Regions from separate parts of the Homo sapiens genome. Here regions 2 and 3 are each linked to region 1. Evidence: promoter capture Hi-C in human tissues and cell types (Jung and others, 2019). All regions are on one chromosome and are shown on one strand. Each heading gives the region's core, a stretch centred on a gene start or on the middle of the fragment in contact. The rest is flanking DNA. Distances are from core to core; before and after follow the strand shown.

Evidence for each region. Contacts are between HindIII fragments. The study calls those that stand out against the background at their distance.
Region 2: a fragment that was not itself captured here is called in contact with the fragment with the promoter of PRELP in region 1 in 2 of the 25 tissues and cell types used here (mesendoderm cells and thymus).
Region 3: a contact is called between a fragment that was not itself captured here and the fragment with the promoter of PRELP in region 1, in 6 of the 25 tissues and cell types used here (H1 embryonic stem cells, adrenal gland, dorsolateral prefrontal cortex and 3 more).

The regions. Positions count from the first base shown.
Region 1 is chr1:203,473,705-203,477,960 of GRCh38, reverse strand. It overlaps PRELP (proline and arginine rich end leucine rich repeat protein), which reads right to left and starts at 2,155. Exons shown (of 3, transcript NM_002725.4): 1 at 2,023-2,155. The HindIII fragment of the contact is 3,589 bases long and covers 942-4,256 here.
Region 2 is chr1:203,780,602-203,784,857 of GRCh38, reverse strand. No RefSeq gene overlaps it. Among named protein-coding and RNA genes, the nearest start is that of ZBED6, 13 kb to the left of the region's middle. The HindIII fragment of the contact is 6,600 bases long and covers 1-4,256 here.
Region 3 is chr1:203,745,148-203,749,403 of GRCh38, reverse strand. No RefSeq gene overlaps it. Among named protein-coding and RNA genes, the nearest start is that of LINC00260, 17 kb to the right of the region's middle. The HindIII fragment of the contact is 4,510 bases long and covers 1-4,177 here.

The DNA.
Region 1 (4,256 bases), core at 906-3,405:
CTTCCTCCCCTTTGTGGCTTGTGAGATCACACTTGGGTCTCAGAAACAACTAACTGAGGAGACTCTGGAAGTCCCCAGCCACCTAGGGAAAGCTTGTTCTGTCTTTCTAATTCACCAACTTCTCACCGATGCTTTCTGCAACAGGTGAGGGGACACTGGCCACAGAAGGTGCAAGTCTGCCTTCCTCAGTGGGCCATGGAGTTCCACTGCGATTCTTGACTTCTCCCAGCTTTTTGCCCCTTCCAGCCTTGAAATGCTTCACTCACATGCCCAATAAATGGGATTGCCCACTAGGGAGGTGGAGGGGGCATGAAGAAAGTGTTCAGCTCACCCTCTGTGAGAGCCCAGACAGGTGGCTGCTGGGAAGGAGGAGCAGGGACCTATAAGGGTCAGGGGAAGGGCCCAGCACATGCTCCTGGGGTCCTGGGGCAGGCAGATTAACAGGTGAGGGGAAACAGAAGCTCTGTGGAGCCATCTTGGGGGAACTTTCTTACTGGAATGTTCCTCTGTGGTATATATGGCTGCTTGTGCTTGCAAGGAGGAGAGAGGGAGACAGCTCTTCCCTGTTTACTCCCACTCCCCAAAAAAGAGGTGGCCTATTTGGGACACTCTGGTGCTCCTTTTCCAGGACACAGTCCTTCTGCCCAGCTAACACTGCCGGAGTCTTGGGCTTAAAAATTACAGCAAAGCTCTCTCTCAGGCCCCTGATTCTCGAGCCCTGGTGGACCATCAGAATCTCCTGAAGTATTAAAACAAGATTCCTGGGTCTCGATTCAGTAGATCTGCAGTGAGAGCCGACATCTGTATTTTTAGTAAGCCCTCCACACTCCTCCCTCTCCAGCCCTTAGGTGACTGTGAAGATCAGCTGTGTGTGGGACCCCTGATCTCCCTACACCCCGCCTGCCTTGGGACAGACCCTCTCTATTAATAGAGAGGAATGAGCAGGGGAGCAGGAGAGGGGCCGCCCTTCAGTTTTCCCCTCCCCAACTGCTTAAGGAACTGCTGCCTTTTTTTTTTTTTCTCCTCTGCCACAGGACCTTTTGCCAACCTAAATGGTTGGAATAATTTCAGAACGGCTTTAAAGAAAAATATTTTTCTGGCTGCCTGCAGGAAAAAAAAATAAAAAAATGAACTGTCCCCAGAGCTGGGAATTAGGACCTTCAAGGATTGGGAACTGGGTCGCTTTCTTCTTTCTTTCCAAAAGCCAAGTGGTTTGGACCAGTGAGACAGAAATTGAAAGCTGCTGAGAAGACACTGTGCAGGTTGGAAAAAGCCGTTTTTCTCTCCCTCCTACCCAGTGAAGCCCTAAATAATGAAGAAACCCTTCCAGCTCCCGCTCTTGCTTATCTCCTCCCTATTCGGCCTGGACTTGGGATGCAAGATTTTCTTCTGGCTCTGCCATCTCAGTGGGAAAACGTACTTTATCTTTGCTCTTACAGCTAGGGAGGTGTGTGTGAGAGGGCGAGAGACAAGATGCAGGGAACATGTGTGCATGCATGTGTGTGTGTGTCTGCTGGTGTCTGGTGATGATGTGGTCTAGCTCTGCATGTCAGATGCAGAGGGCAGAGGTGAATGGACAGGATGTCTTCATTTTGTATGGTCGTGTGGGGTGATGGTAGTGAACGTGCAGCCTCCGTGTGATGTGTGTGACTTCCACAATGTGTGACAATACACAAAAGGTGCAAAGAAATGGGTTCTGGAGTCCAGTTTCTATGGAAACACCTGATCTGTAGAAACACTTTGTGCAGCGTGGCTCTCTGTGCTACAACAAACATCTGCAGCAGGAAAGCTTAACTTTTGCAGTAAGCAAATATAGGGGTACAGAGTGATGAAAAGAAAAGGAAGAGGCTATAGGAAAGAAGTTAGGAAGACTAAATTTGAACTCATTTGAGAGGAGAAAGAGGTGGGAGGAAGGAAGGAGTGAGAGGATAGAGACTAGATCAATAAATGGACAGAGCTGGAGGAAACTTACTGGATGAAAGATTCTTCCCAGTCTCCTGCCCATCTCCCAACTGGGCTTACCTGCACACACCTGCCTCTCCTCTCAGCTCTGAGTTTAGTCCTCCTCTTCCACCCCCTCCCTTCGGCGGAGCTGTGGCAGCAGAGAGCCAGCTAGAAGATCTGATCTCCCAGTGGTGTGTGCGTGCTTGTGTTTGCCTGACTTTTCTTCCACCAGATCCTATTGGGGTGGGGAGGTTAGCTTGGGGGGAGGGAGGGGCAGATCATAGGGAGGGAGGGGAGGAGAGGAGGGAGGAGGGAGGGAGGGGAGGGGAGGAGAGAGGGAGGGAGCTTGGGAAAGGAGGAATGACAATAAAGTCTTTATTTGGCAGCCAAAACTCCCAAAGACTTCATCCACACACCATTCCCACTAACAGACTCATTTTTAATAACATTTCCTTCTGCTGCTGCCGCTTCTGGAGAGGGGTTGTTTGACCCATGTTTGGAAAACAAGCCAAATTAACAGAGTGAAAAGGCATGAAAAGCAACCTCTGTGTAAGCCAGGACTGGATGGCTGGGTCCAGCACTAGCCTGTTTAATTCCTCCTAACAATCGCCTTGCCTTCTGGGGCCGTTGCTCGGTAGTGTTAAATTCCTAAACCAGTGAGGGGTTTGGGATGCTTCCTCTGAGCAGTGACAGTCTTTCCCTAAGTTATCTTCTCCAGGAGGTTGCAAAGGGAGTGGAGTCTCAGGCTGGCATAGGAGATAACTTCGGTTTGGCTGCCAGGGCTGTTCTGAGAACCAGAGAGGGAGAAGTCTGGCCTGAGTTGCACAGCAAAGTTAAGGCAGAATTAAGATTTAATGTAAGACCTAAAGTCACTGTTCCTAGCTCATGTGGACAATGTAGTGGCTTCTTTCAGCTTCTCCATATCACACTTAGGTGAGATTTAGGGGCTGTGTGGTCATCACACAAAGTGATGGGAAATCCAAATTTCCCCTGTGCACATCAACACCCCAGAAGACCCAGTCAAGTAACACCACTACCTCTAACAATCCTCTAACAATGCCCCTCAATTAAGAAAGCACAACACACTTGCAGGTAAGTAGATGCCCATCAAAATTTCCTGCCATGGCCAGGCACAGTGGCTCACGCCTGTAATCCCAGTACTGTGGGAGGCAGAGGCAGGCGGATCACCTGAGGTCAGGAGTTTGAGGCCAACCTGGCCAACATGGTGAAACCCTGTCTGTACTAAAAATACAAAAAAATTAGCTGGGTGTGGTGGCGGGCATCTGTAGTCCCAGCTACTAGGGAGGCTGAGGCAGGAGAATTGCTTGAACCTGGGAGGCAAAGCTTGCAGTGAGCCAAGATCGTGCCACTGCACTCCAGCCTGGGCAACAAGAGCGTGACTCTGTCTCAAAAAATAAATAAGTAAATAAAATAAATAAATTCCTGCCATCCCAGCTGACTACTTAGAAAATGCAACGCAATTTTCTTCTCCATTATTGGTTCCATGGAGAGCTGCAGAGCCCCATGACAGGGGACTGCCTGCCTGCCCTCCGCAATATGGGGTAGAGGAGAGAACATTAAAATTAGGGTCTGCAGCCCTGGGCTCAGCCACCCACAAGCTATGGTCTTAGGTGAATCACTTGATCATGAGGACCTTCAGTTTCCTCATTTACAAAATATGGATAATATTGACCTCACAGGGTTGGGAAGATTAAATATTGTAAATGTGAGAGCACTTTATAAACTGGGAAGATATTAGGGTTTAGGAAAGGGATTGCGATGAATGGTAATTAGCCTAAGAAAAGGAGAAGGAAAAATAAAACCCAGACCTTTCTCCAACCCCCTTCCACCCCAGATCTCATGGCTTCACGCCCTGCTGGTGAGGTCTTGCTGGAAGACAGCACGGTTCCTCTCCAGGTTCACATTAACTGTGGCTCTGCCAGGCTGCTCATGTGCTTCATTTCTCATCCAGATGGGATATGGCGTCTTCTGCAGGCCGGGAACATCAGACGCCAGATTTGCTTGTTTCCCTTGGTATGGTGGGTGGTAGATGATAGAGGGCAAAAAAGACTGGCTGGGCACGGAGACTCATGTCTGTAATCCCAGCACTATGGGAGACGAAGGCAGAAGATTAATGGAGCCCAGGAGTTCGAGACCAGCCTGGGCCATATGGGGGGACCCTGTTTGTACAAATAATTTAAAAATTAGCTGGGTGTGGTGGTGTGTACCTGAAGTCCCAGCTACTTAGGAGACTGAGGTGAGAGGATTATTTGAGGCCAGGAGACCAAGGCTGTAATGAGCTATGATTACGC
Region 2 (4,256 bases), core at 1,101-3,600, 310 kb before region 1:
GAGATAGGGTTTTGCTCTGTTGGCCAGGCTGGTCTCAAACTCCTGGTCTCAAGTAATCTGCCTGCCTCAGCCTCCCAAAGTGCTGGGATTACAGGTGTGAGCCATTGTGCCTGGCCAAGACAAAATTCTATCCTGTTTTTTTTCCCCAAACTCTCTGGCTGCTCATTCTCTAGTTCCTTGGCAGTTTCCTCTTTCTCCCCTCATTTAACTGTGTGTTGTTGTTGTTGTTGAGACAGGATCTTGCTCTGTTGCCTAGGGTGGGGTGCGGTGGTGTGATCTCAGCTCACTGCAGCCTCAACCTTTTGCACTCAAGTGATCCTCCCACCTCAGCCTCCTGAGTAGCTGGGACTACATACAGGTGTACACCACCATGTCTGGCTAATTTTTGTATTTTTTCATAGAGATGGGGTTACACCATGTTGCTCAGGCTTTTCTCAAACCCCTGGCCTCAAGTGATCCACCTGCTTTGGCCTCCCAAAGTGCTGGGATTACAGGGGTAAGCTACCATGCCTGGCCCTTTGAAACATTTTCTAAGTCAAAGCAAGCAAGCAAGCAAGCAAGCAAGCAGGAGAGGCTATATTAATATCAGATAAATAGACTTCAGAACAAGGAATATTACCAGCAATAAAGAGGGGCATTAAATAATGACAAAGGAGTCAATTCACCAAGAAGCCATTAGCAATCCTAAATATGCATGCAACTAACAATAGAGCTTCAAAACCCATGAAGGCTTTACGGAGGTAGAACTGAAAGGAAAAACAGAGAAATCCACAATTATATTTGAATCCATCAGCACTCTTCTCTGAGCAATTGATAGAACAAGTAGATGGAACATCAGTAAAGATATAGATGACCTGAACAACAAACACTGTCAACCAGCTTGAGTTCACTGATGTTTTCAAAGCATTTTGCTCAACAGCAGTTGAATACACATTCTTTTCATGTGAAATCCCACAAGAAACTTGGAGAATTATGTCTTGACCTGAGATTGTCAAGAATGGGCTTCCCCCTCTTACAGAGTCAGTTTTCCAGGACACCTGCGGCAAACTCAAACTTTGTCAGAGATTCTCTGCTTCTGAGTACAGCTTACTTATGGACCTAGCATTTATTTAGCCACGTAGAGACCTCCCCTGATGTGTCTGCCTGGTGTCTCTCTGAGCAATGATGGCTTTACGTGGCTGGCTTCTGCTTTGATGTTTGCTATGAGCTCCAGGGAAGAAACATCTTCCTTAAATGAATGCCGTATCTGATACATAATATAAATCAGTTCATCTGCGGTGGCTCATGCCTGTCATCCCAGCACTTTGGAAGGCTGACTTGGGCAAATCACTTGAGGCCAGGAGTTTGAGACCAGCCTGGCCAACATGATGAAACCCCATCTCTACTACAAATACAAAATTAGCTGGGTATGGTGGCAGGCGCCTGTAATCCCAGCTACCTGGGAGGCTGAGATGGGAGAATCGCTTGAACCTGGCAGGCAGAGGTTGCAGTGAGCTGAGATTGTGCCATTGCACTCCAGACTGGGCAACAAGAGCGAGACCTTGTCTCAAAAAAAAAAAAAAGAAAAAAAGAAATTAATTTATCAAGAAACCAGCAAATGTTTCAGGCCCAACAGCCTTTTTTTCCACTTCCTCGTTTCTTCTTTTTCTTGTTTGTTTTTTTTTGAGACGGAGTCTGGCTCTGTCGCCCAGGCTGGAATGCAGTGGTGCAATCTAGGCTCACTGCAACCTCTGCCTCCTGGGTTCAAGCGATTCTCCTGCCTCAGCCTCCCAAGTAGCTGGGACTACAGGTGCGTGCCATCATGCCCAACTAATTTTTTATATTTTTAGTAGAGATGGGGTTTCACTGTGTTTGCCAGGATGGTCTCGATCTCCTGACCTCGTGATCCATCCGCCTCGACCTCCCAAAGTTCTGGGATTACAGGCGTGAGCCACTGTCCCCGGCCCTCGTTTCTCCTTTAGAAACCTAGATTTGTGTGCATGCCTACGTATGCTCATCTTTTTACTTCTCTGAATCTGACCACAGGGCTTCAGATATTATCATGTTCTTCTATCATCAGACATATTAAATTATGTCATTGTAGTAGATAAAATAATGCCCCCCAACAAAGATGTTCACATCCTAATCCCTGAAACCTGTGACTGTGTTACCTTGCATGGTAAAAAGGATTTTGTAAGACCAGGCGCAGTGGCTCATGCCTGTAATCCCAGCACTCTGGAAGGCCTAGGCGGGCGGCTCACCTGAGGTCAGGAGCTCGATACCAGCTTGGCCAACATGGTAAAACTCTGTCTCCACTAAAAATACAAAAATTAGCCGGGCATGGTGGCATGCATCTGTAATCCCAGCTACTTAGGAGGCTGAGGCAGGAGAATTGCTTGAACCTGGGAGGCCTCTTCTAATTACATTGGGCCCACTCTGATATCCAGGATAGTCTCCTCATCTCAAGACCTTTACTCATACCTGCAAAGTCCTCTTTTTTTTTTTGAGGTGGAGTCTCACTCTTGTCGCCCAGGCTGGAGTGCAGTGGTGTGATCTCGGCTTGGGGCACAGCGTGCTGGGGAGAGTGAAGGAAAGAGAGCAGGAGCTCTTTTTGTGAGAAAGGATGTGTTTTCCTCAGTTGGAGTAGAGAGGTGGGACGTCCACATTCCTGAGAAGAGACTCAAATAAGCACATAAGCATGAGGGCAGGGAGGGCAGGCCCGTGGGCCCAGGGCTGGCTACATAATGTGTAGGGCCCAGTGCAAAATGAAAATGTGGAAACACTTGTTCACAAAATAGAAAAAAAATACTGTTGGCTGGGCATGGTGGCTCACGCCTGTAATCCCAGCACTGTGGGAGGCTAAGGCTGGCAGATCACCTGAGGTCAGGCGTTTGAGACCAGCCTGACCAACATGGTGAAACCCCTCCTCTACTAAAAATACAAACATTAGCTGGGCATGGTGGCACATGCCTGTAATCCCAGCTACTCAAGAGGCTGAGGCAGGAGAATAGCTTGAACCCGGGAGGCAGAGGTTGCAGTGAGCCGAGATCGTGCCATTGTACTCCAGTCTCGGTGACAGAGCAAAACTCCTCTCAAAAAAAAAAAAACAAAAAAAAAAACAGGCCGGGCGTGGTGGCTCACGCCTATAATCCCAGCACTTTGGGAGGCAGAGACGGGCGGATTACGAGGTCAGGAGATTGAGACCATCCTAGCTAACACGGTGAAACCCCATCTCTACTAAAAACACAAAAAAATTAGCCGGGCATGGTGGCGGGCACCTGTAGTCCCAGCTACTCGGGAGGCTGAGGCGGAAGAATGGCGTGAACCCGGGAGGCGGAGCTTGCAGTGAGCTGAGATCACGCCACTGCACTCCAGCCTGGGCAACACAGCGAGACTCCGTCTCAAAAAAAAAAAAAAACATACTGTTAAAGGTGCTAAAATATAAAGCTTTCCCCTTTCTTCTAGTCCAAGCTTGTTCAACCCACAGCCTGCAGGCTCCATGCAGCCCAGGATGGCTTTGAAAATAGCCCAACACATATTCAAATTCATAAACTTTCTTAAAACATGAGATTTTTTGGAGATTTTGTTTTTTGTTTTTTGTTTTTTAGCTTATCAGCTATCATTGGTGTTAGCATATTTTATGTGTAGTCCAAGACAATTCTTCTTCTTTCTTTTTTTTTTTTGGTGAGATGGAGATTTACTCTTGTTGCCCAGGCTGGAGTTCAAGGGCGTGATCTTGGCTCACCGCATCCTCCGCCTCCCAGGTTCAAGCGATTCTCCTACCTCAGCCTCCCGAGTAGCTGGGATTACAGGCATGTGTCACCACGCCCGGCTAATTCTGTATTTGTAGTACAGATGAAGTTTCACCGTGTTGCCCAGGCTGATCTCGAACTCCTGACCTCAGGTAATCCTCTCGCCTCGGCCTCCCAAACAGCTGGGATTACAGGCGTGAGCCACTGCGCCCAGTCAATTCTTCTTTCAATGTGGCCCAGGGAAGCTAAAAGATTGGACATCCCTATATGTAGTCTTTCTTTTTTCTTTTCTTTTCTTTTTTTTGTTTGAAACGGAGTCTCGCTCTGTAGCCCAGGCTGGAGTGCAGTGGCGCGATCTCGGGCTCACTGCAAGCTCCGCCTCCCGGGCTCATGCCATTCTCCTGCCTCAGCCTCCCGAGTAGCTGGGACTACAGGTGCCCGCCACCACGCCCGGCTAATTTTTTTTTTTTGTATTTTTAGTAGAGACAGGGTTTCACCGTGTTAGCCGGGATGGTCTCAATCTCC
Region 3 (4,256 bases), core at 673-3,172, 270 kb before region 1:
GAAAGATGTAGGAATTCTCTCTTTTTTTTTTTTTTTCGGAAAGAGAGTCTTGCTGTGTTGCCCAGGCTGGAGTGCAGTGGCATGATCTCGGCTCACTGCAACCTCCACCTCTCACGTTCAAGTGATTCTGCTGCCTCAGCCTCCTGAGTAGTTGGGATTACAGGTGCCTGTCACCACGACTGGCTAAGTTTTTGTATTTTTAGTAGATACAGGGTATTGCCATGTTGCCCAGGCTGGTTTTGAACTCCTGAGCTCAGGCAATCTGCCTGCCTTGGCCTCCCAAAGTGCTGGGATTACAGGCATGAGCCACTGCGCCCAGCAGGAATTTTTTATTTTTATTTTTATTATTTATTTATTTATTTATTTATTGAGACAGGATCTATCTTTGTAACCCAGGCTGGAGTGCAGTTGTGCAATCTCAGCTCACTGCAACCTCCGCCTCCTGGGTTCAAGTGATCCTCTCACCTCAGCCTTCAGAGAAGCTGGGATTACAGGCATGAGCCACCATGCCCAGCTAATTTTTGTAAGTTTAGTAGAGATGAGGTTTCACCATGTTGGCCAGGCTGGTCAGATGCAGGAATTCTTGACTTAAATAAAGGGTTTTGGATGATCATGGATATATTTGTTCTTCTCTTAAGCATGGTTAAAGGCAATCTGTAGGTACCAGTCCAGCTCTTCCCAGCCTTACTCCCTCTTTCAAATGAGTTATCATATATACTTGCTTTAAATAGGTGAAGACATGAAGATCTGGAGTTATAAAACACAAATCAGTCTTTCAATGCAGTCTTCCTGGGTCTAGCATAGCAAGAAAGCTTAAATCAATTGTGCTGTGTTTGGAAAAAGAATGTGCTAAAAGGAGATGGTCTATATGTCCTCTGTTATAGGAGACACCAGAGAAATCAAGTGATGCTTAAGCTTGAACACAGGGCCCAGTTCTATTCTAAAGTAGAGACAGGCCAGGCATGGTGGCTCATGCCTGTAATCCCAACATTTGGGAGGCTGAGGTGGGAGGATAGTTTGGGGCCAGGTGATTGACTCCAGCTTGAACAACATAGTAAGACTCCATCTCTTAAAAAAAATTACAGGCATGGTGGTGCATGCCTGTAGTCTCAGCTACTTGGAAGGCTAAGATGGAAGGATAACTTGAGCCGAGTCTAAGGCTGCAGTAAGCCTTGGTCATGCCACTGCTCTCCAGCCTGGGTGACAGAGCAAGACCCTGTCTCAAAAACAAAAAAAGGAGTAGGGACAGATATATGCCCTGTGAGTGTAATGGCACTAGCCACTCAGACAGTTCTATTATTTCCCCTTTGCGTAGAGTTCATGAGCAGAAGTTAAATTTCTGATTGTAATCTGGCTATCCAAATATGTAGATTATTTCAATTCTTTTTTTTTTTTTTTTTTGAGATGGAGCCTTGCTCTGTCACCTATGTTGGAAGGCTGGAGTGCAGTGGCGTGATCTTGGCTCACTACAACCTCCGCCTCCTGGGTTCAAGGGATTCTTCTGCTTCAGCCTCCCGGGTAGCTGGTATTACAGGTGCACACCACCACGCTCAGCTAATTTTTGTATTTTTAGTAGAGACAGGGTTTCACCATGTTGGCCAGACTGGTCTTGAACTTCTGACCTCAGGTGATCCGCCCACCTCAGCCTCCCAAAGTGCTGGGATTACAGGCATGAACCACTGCCTTCCGAGCTAGCATTCTTGTTTTGCCACCAGCCTTTTAGAAGGCAGCGGGAGGCCATTCTAAAGAGACTGATCTCTGTTTTGTGCATGTCTTCTGAGGACAGGGAGATGATGCTGGGCCAGGAAAGTATTATTTGAAAAGAGTCAGAGAAGTAAAGACTTGTTTATGATTGGTTGTACATCAGGACATAGGCAAGCCCAGAACCCAGAAGCTGCTACCTTTCAAGCTGAAAGCTTTCTGTCTATGAATCTAATAGGTCAGTACCTCTCATGGCTTAGGTTCATGGTGGAGGTAACTGGATGTTAATGATCCTGCACAGAAATGGTAACATGTTTACATGTATTATTTACAACAAAGCTTCACAATTATTTGTTGGTGAAGGACATGCCATTCTCATTCTCCTTCCTGCTTGTAGTGACAAGAAGGCCACGCTTTAACAAACCCAGGTCAGGGGCTGGTAAATATCTCACTGGAACCCAAGGAGTCATCTTCTTTGGATTCACCACAGAGTAGGTCAGGGAGTTGCCTGGTCATGTGTATACTTTGGGGGAACCAGGTGGGCTTGGTAGAGAGCTTCAAACTGATGACCGCAGGGAGACGATATGGACTAGTGGAGAAAGGGGAGACTCACAAACCATTACTGAAGATGGAGGGCAGGCTGGGCGTGGTGGCTTATGCCTGTAATCCCAGCACTTTGCGGGGGCCAAGGCAGGCGGATCACCTGAGGTCAGGAGTTCGAGACCAGCCTGGCTAACATGGTGAAACCCCGTTTCTTCTAAAAATACAAAAAATTAGCCGGGCATGGTGGCGCACGCCTGTAATCCCAGCTACTCGTGAGGCTGAAGCAGGAGAACTGCTTGAACCCTGGAGGCAGAGGTTGTAGTGAGCCGAGATCACACCATTGCACTCCCACTTGGGCAACAAGAGTGAAACTCCATCTCAAAAAAAAAAAAGAAAAAGAAAAGATGGAAGGCAAAGCTATTATTCTTTTCTAGAACTGGGGTAAGGGAAAAGAATGGAAGAACAGAGTATGCTCTTTTCCATACAGTGACCTAGGTCCAAGTTGCTGAGCTGGCCTTTACATTCTCTTGAGCCAACACCTTAGGATATAGTGGTCTCTGCCAGAATGATACGTAGGAGGTTCATTCTTCACCATTCCTTACCATATCCTGGGGTTAAGAGACGTGGATCCTTAAGATCCTCTGTTTGGCATGGCAGAGAGGCACAGATCTATGGTCCAACAAACACAAAGTGGGGGTGAGAGAAGAAATAGAGGGCCAAGCTTTAGAAAGGACCGTATAGGGGTTCATATGTGTTACATCCTTTTCAGCAAGAGTATTTAGGAGGGAAACTACAATGGAAAAAGCAGACTTTCTTTTCTTTCTTTTTTTTTTGAGACGGAGTCTTGCTCTGTTGCAAGGCTGGAGTGCAATGGCGCGATCTCGGCTCACTGTAATCTCTGCCTCCTGGGTTCAAGCAATTCTCCTTCCTCAGCCTCCCGAGTAGCTGGGACTACAGGCGCATGGCACCATGCCCAGATAATTTTTGTATTTTTAGTAGAGATGGGGTTTCACCATGTTGGCCAGGATGGTCTCGATCTCTTGAGTTTGTGATCCACCCACCTCGGCCTCCCAAAGTGCTGAGATTACAGGCGTGAGCCACTGTGCCCAGCCTATTTTCATTTTTGTTTGTTAAGTTCATTATTTATTCTCCATCCCCTATTTTAAAGAAACTAAGTGGGCAATGTGTTCAATGCCTGTGGAGAGCAACCTAGGACAGAAAAGAAAAGTGGGGATAAGATCTCAGATCATTTAAGTCTTTTTCTTTTCTTTTCTGAGATGGAGTTTCACTCTTGTTGCCTAGGCTGGAGTGCAATGGTGTGACTTCGGTTCACCACAACCTCTACCTCCCAGGTTCAAGTGATTCTCCTGCCTCAGCCTCCTGAATAGTTGGGATAACAGGCATGCACCACCACGCCCGGCTGATTTTTGTATTTTTGTTTGTTTGTTTTGTTTTTTTTGAGACGGAGTCTTGCTCTGTTGTCCAGGCTGGAGTGCAGTGGCATGATCTCGGCTCACAGCAAGCTCCGCCTCCCAGGTTCACGCCATTCTCTTGCCTCAGCCTCCCGAGTAGCTGGGACTACAGGCACCTGCCACCACGCCCGGCTAGTTTTTTGTATTTTTTAGTAGAGATGGGGTTTCACTGTGTTAGTCAGGATGGTCTCAATTTCCTGACCTCATGATCCGCCCACCTTGGCCCCCCAAAGTGCTGGGGTTACAGGCATGAGCCACTGCGCTTGGCTGAATTTATTTTTTGTAGAGACAGGGTTTCTCCATGTTGGTCAGGCTCGTCTCGAACCCCTGACCTCAGGTGATCCGCCTGCCTTGGCCTCCCGAAGTGCTGGGATTATAGGTATGAGCCACTGCGCTCGGACCTTCTTTTTTTTTTTTTGAAATGGAGTTTCACTCTTGTTGCCCAGGCTGAAGTGCAATGGCGTGATCTTGGCTCACCGCAACCTCTGCCTCCCAGGTTCAAGTGATTCTCCTGCCTCAGCCTCCGAGTAGCTGGGATTA